Regions from separate parts of the Homo sapiens genome. Here region 2 is linked to region 1. Evidence: promoter capture Hi-C in human tissues and cell types (Jung and others, 2019). All regions are on one chromosome and are shown on one strand. The core of a region is centred on a gene start or on the middle of the fragment in contact, and the rest is flanking DNA. Distances in the headings are between cores, read along the strand shown. Region 1 overlaps INO80 (INO80 complex ATPase subunit). Region 2 holds the start of DLL4 (delta like canonical Notch ligand 4).

Region 1 (2,700 bases), core at 58-2,557:
GTATTTTTAGTAAAGGCGGGATTTCACTGTGTTAGCCAGGTTGGTCTCGAATTCCTGACCTTGTAATCTGCTCGTCTCAGCCTCCCAAAGTGCTGGGATTACAGGCATGAGCCACCATGCCCGCCAAGAAATAGTCATATCTTTTGTACTAGTATGGAGAATCACCTTGACTAAGAGTTACAAATAGGCCGGGTGCGGTGGCTCACGCCTGTAATCCCAGCACTTTGGGAGGCCGAGGTGGGTGGATCACGAGGTCAGGAGATCGAGATCATCCTGGCTAACACAGTGAAACCCCGTCTCTACTAAAATACAAAAAAACTTAGCCAGGCGTTGTGGCGGGCGCCTGCAGTCCCAGCTACTCGGGAGGCTGAGGCAGGAGAATGGCTTGAACCTGGGAGGCGGAGCTTGCAGTGAGCAGAGATCTCGCCACTGCACTCCAGCCTGGGTGACAGAGCAAGACTCTGTCTCAAAAAAAAAAAAAAAAGTTACAAATAAAGTCTGTTTGTGTTGGTGACTCAAATATCACAGCAAGTAAGAGGAAACTATTGAGCTAAGGTGAAATAAAAGAGGATGGAATGATTTGCTCTTCAGGCTCTTCCAAGATGAGCGGGGAATGACTTCAGCATTTTGAGGAAGAGGGAAAAAAGATTTGAAGTAATCTTGGTAGAGAATGAGAAACAATTGGTAGAAGGTGGGTAAAAGGGTTATTGAGAATTATCAAGTGTTTTGCTGAAGTTGGACGATAACAGATGGGTCAGGTTGATGGCCATGCAGTTTCCTTGTAGGGAATAAGAGACAAATGAGGAGATGAAAGTGGTTATTGCAGCAGCAGCTTTTAACATGCTAATCAAGACTAGGCTGAATTGAGAGGCCAGCAATCTTAAAAGGTGATTAAGAAATGATTGTCAGCCGGGTGGGTGGCTCATGCCTATAATCCCACTACTTTGGGAGGCTGAGGTGGGTGGATCACTTGATGCCAGGCGTTTGAGACCAGCCTGGCCAACATGGTAAAACTCCATCTCTACTAAAAATACAAAAATTAGCTGTGTGTGGTGGGGTGCGCCTGTAGTCCCAGCTACTTGGGAGGCTGGAGGTGAGAGAATCACTTGAACCCAGGAGGCGGAGATTGTAGTGAGCGGAGATCACCCCATTGTGCTCCAGCCTGGGCGACAGAGGGAGCCTCTGTCTCAAAAAAAAAAAAAAAAGAAAAAATTGTGAATGGTAGTAATGGTTGCACAACAATGTGAATGTATATAATGCCACTGAAGTGTACACTTAAAAATGGTTAAAATGGTAAGTTTTATGTCTTTTGCCACCATAAAGAAAAAAATTGAACACTTAAAAAATATAACTTGGTTCTCCAGATGTCATCATAGGACTTCTTGTGGAGAATTTTGTGCTTACAGCACCTTTTTTTGGTGGTATTGTGGACATAAGGGAATTCATTGCAGCTGTCATTTCAGCCATCAGTGGTGATATGCTGCAAAGATGATTTCTGGGATGAATCAGTTGACAGGACTGATGTATACTGGGTGTCAAAAGGGAGCATATATTGAGGATTGTAAGACTAGAAGTTAACTGTGATCTTTCTTCAACAAATTGTTTTTGATTTCATACTCACATAGGTACTGAGGAATAAGTTTTGAAAATATTCCATTCATTGGCCGGGCACAGTGGCTCACACCTGTAATCCCAGCACTTTGGGAGGCCGAGGCGGGCGAATCACGAGGTCAGGAGATCGAGACCATCCTGGCTAACACAGTGAAACCCCGTCTGTACTAAAAATACAAAAAGTTAGCCTGGCGTGGTGGCAGGCGCCTGTAGTCCCAGCTACTCGGGAGGCTGAGGCAGGAGAATGGCGTGAACCTGGGAGGCAGAGCTTGCAGTGAGCCGAGATTGGGCCACAGCATTCCAGCCTCGGCTACAAGACTTTGTCTCAAAAAAAAAAGAAAAGAAAATATTCCATTCATTTCGAATCACTCCGTATTACTTGGTAGTCATACCTCCTTAATTAGTGTCATTTTCCTTATCAGGTAAAATAACTAGAGCATGGATTAATTGTTCTGTAATAAAAGCTTGGGATGGAGCCAAGCAGAGTAGTTTTACATTTATACATGTATCAAGATGAATTATTTGCTGTTCTCTTAAGGGAGTTTTGTTGTATTTTAAAAACCAATTTCTTTGAAATCTTCTGGAGTGGGTGGGTACACGTTAGGTCTCATTTTGAAAAGGTGAAATTTAAAGTTTTTTTTTTTTTGGATAGTCTCACTCTGTTATGCAGGCTGGAGTACAGTGGTGCGTTCATGACTTACTGAGGTCTCAACCTCCTGGGCTCAAACCATCCTCCCTCCTCAGCCTCCCAAGTGGCTGGGTTTACAGGTGCATGCCACTACACTCAGCTAATTTTTAAATTTTTTTGTAGAGACAAGGTCTCGCCATGTTACTCAGGCTGGTCTTGAACTCTTGGGCTCAAGCTCTCCTCCTGCCTCACCTCCCAAAGTGCTGGGATTACAAGCTTCAGCCACTGCTCCTGGCCAAAAGTATTTTTTAGCATTCTTTTTTCTTTATATTACCAAGACTGACAATTTACAAACTATGAAATTCACATAATTTAAATAAAATATACAGTTCAGTATATTTTGAATATATTTTTGGTAGATTTACAGAATTGTGGAACTATCGCCACAATGGGAGTTTGGA
Region 2 (2,700 bases), core at 93-2,592, 170 kb after region 1:
TGGCCGCAGGTCGTCTCCTGGCGCGTGCCAAGCTTCGATGATGAGCGAGAAGGTACCCTGGGAAAGGGGGTGGGGGGACGGAGAGATGGCGAGATGAGCAAGCGGGGAGAGGTGGGGGTGCCTTGCGGCAGCCTGTTTAATTAATCTAATTGCAGGATTCAGTTACTGCGCCCGGGTCAACATAACGGGGCTGTGCACAGTGTAGCGCTTGAGCAGGGAAGGCGAGAGGAGAACCCCCGGTAGAGGGAGGGTTGAGAGACGGGAGAGTGTAAGGGAGAGCCACTGGAGGAGGGGGTGGTAGGGTACCGCCCCAGAGTGGTAGGTAATGAAAATCGTGTCCCAAGAGCTGGGGACGGGAGGACATAAACTGGGAAGACGGAGACTGGTGAGAGCCTTTTCTGGGATCAGTCTCAGGAGAGAGTCGGGAAGAGCCAGGAAAGAATGCATCCTGGGCTTTTTGGGGGTGGGGGTGTGTGTACAAGGAAATCTGGGGAGGGGGCTTTGGTCCCAGGGCGCCTCCTCTCTCGGCTTCTGCGACCTCCCAGTGCGCCCAGGCTGTGCTCACCGGCCAGGTGAAATTGAAGGGCAGTTGGAGAGGGTTGCGCCCCCCGCCGCTACTGTCGTCCCGGACAGCGAAGGAGTTGGTGCCCAATACCGGCGTGGAGACGGTCCCGAAGGTGCAGGGTCCGGGCGAGACGACCGCCTGGAAGTGCTTAAGGCAGACGCGGAAGAAAGTCCGGCAGCCGGGCTCGCAAGGCCGCCCACTGGCCAGTACGCCGCGCTCGTTGATGAACTCCTGCAGCTGCAGCTGGAAGACGCCGGAGCCGGCCGCGCGCTATTGCACAGGGACCGAGGGAAGGAGGGAGGGGACCGGTCAGCTCAGCTGGTGCCCGGGGCTGAGGCCCAGAGCGCGGCAGAGGGGACGGAGAGGGCGCGGGACGTGTTACCTGCTGCCAAAGTGCCACCAGCAGCAGTAGCGCCCAGCCAGAGGCGCTCCGGGACGCTGCCGCCATCCCCTCGGGCGTCGCTCTCTCCACCCGCGGGCCCTCAATCTGGCTCTGTTCGCGACGCCGCTTTCCCGCGCGTCCGCCAGCCGGCGGGGTCCCTGAAAAGAGGCGCTCCTCTCGGGACGCTGCTCCCCTTTGGCCTTCTCGCTGGCTCCGCTGCAGCTGCCGCTGTAGGTAATCCAGGTGACTACGGCTGGGCGGCGACCGCGCCGAGGACGCGTCTTCTGTCTAATCCTGGGGCTGCAAGCGGGCTAGTGCCGGTGTACGCTGCACCAAGGCGGCTGGGGCTGCGGCTCTTGGCCTCGTGTTCCCGGCCTGCGCGCAGCGCCGCTACTGAAACCTGCGCGCTGGGGGCCTTCCTTATATATATTGGCTCCTCTCCTCGCCGCCTGTCACTCAGACTCATGGTCATTCTCCCCTCCCCTCCCGGCCTCTAGCTGCTACAGTCCCAGCGCCGCCCGGAGGGGGCCTCCGCCCCCGCCGCTCCCCCCTCCCCGTCAGCCAGTCGGGCGCAGGTCCCCGCCCCTCCGTGCCGCTCCCAACCTCTAGGTCCCCCAGCTCTGCGCGTGCCGAGGTGACCAGTCCTCCGTGATGGCGGGGTTAAGGGCTGAGACCCTGGCCGCCGGAGGATAGAGGGGTTGCCCGGTAATGGGGCAGGAGGTGAGTGGGTGGTTCGGGGATGGTCTTGGGGGCGGAGACACTAGGCAGTCCCTGTAGGCTGTGCATCCGCAGCAGGCGCTAGTTACCTAGTGTTCCAAAGCAGGTAAAAAGAACTTAAGCCCGGAATGCAAAAACCAGCGCTAGGGAAATCCGATCTCCTTTTCCTTCCTGGAGCTTCTGGAGCCCTTGTCTCAACGGCCCCCAACCTATGAGTGCCCACCCACCACGCGTCCCCAGCGCAGCAGGGAAGCCAGCAGAAGCGTTAACCTCTCTGTGGCCACTCTGAGCAAGGCTAGGGGCTAAGGGTCTAAGGCTCGGGGCCCTCTCTGTGCACCTGTTGGGCGTCTCCCTCTCTAGCTAAGGGGGGGCGTGCCCAGCGCGTGCCTTCTCCCTTCTGCCCCCTGCCAGGGCTTGGCGCGTGCCAGAGACCCAGACGCGCGGTCCCTGAGGTGGGGGAGGGCGGGGCGTGGTCCCGGAGGTAGGAGGGGGGCGCGTCCTCAGCTGTATGGTAATGAGGTTCTGGCCCCGCCTCCAGCGCGTCCCCTCACCTGAGTCCAGCTTCAGTTCCTGCGCCCACTGCCTCCCCCCACCCCAGCAGCCCCAAGCCCCCGGCCGCGCCCTGTCGCTCAGCTGGGGCAAGGAGGAACTCTCCTGACGCCAGAGTTGGCTCAGGCCACTGGAGAATCAAGGTGAGGGACTGAGGCCGGGTCGGCCCGGGTCCTCGCCTCATAAGGCGGGATGTGGGGTGGAACTGGAGGCTTGCGGAGCTGTTTGAGTTTCAGGCGGCTTCCCAAGTCTCGCCCGAGAGGGTCCCCTGGGTGGCCCCACTCCTCCAAGCGGCAGCAGCGCAGCTGCTTTCTCGGAACCCGGCGTGATCCCCGGAGACCGCAGACCGGGGAGGGCCGGCTTCTCCCAGTCTCAGGGGTGCCGGGGAGCTCTCTCTTTGCGACGCCGAGGGCAGCGGGGGCCCTGTGGCTTCAGCTGTCAGCCCGCCCGCGAGGTGATGGCTGTAGTCGGGCGGTAAGATCAGCGC

Evidence for each region. Contacts are between HindIII fragments. The study calls those that stand out against the background at their distance.
Region 2: the fragment with the promoter of DLL4 here is called in contact with a fragment that was not itself captured in region 1 in 2 of the 25 tissues and cell types used here (bladder and dorsolateral prefrontal cortex).

Annotation. Positions count from the first base shown.
Region 1 is chr15:41,099,336-41,102,035 of GRCh38, reverse strand. The region is part of intron 1 of INO80 (INO80 complex ATPase subunit); the gene reads left to right. Among named protein-coding and RNA genes, the nearest start is that of INO80, 16 kb to the left of the region's middle. The HindIII fragment of the contact is 3,775 bases long and covers 1-2,700 here.
Region 2 is chr15:40,927,982-40,930,681 of GRCh38, reverse strand. DLL4 (delta like canonical Notch ligand 4) reads right to left here and starts at 1,342. Exons shown (of 11, transcript NM_019074.4): 1 at 948-1,342; 2 at 566-835; 3 at 1-57. The coding sequence starts at 1,013. RefSeq lists silencers at 1,448-1,537, 2,131-2,200. The HindIII fragment of the contact is 17,329 bases long and covers 1-2,700 here.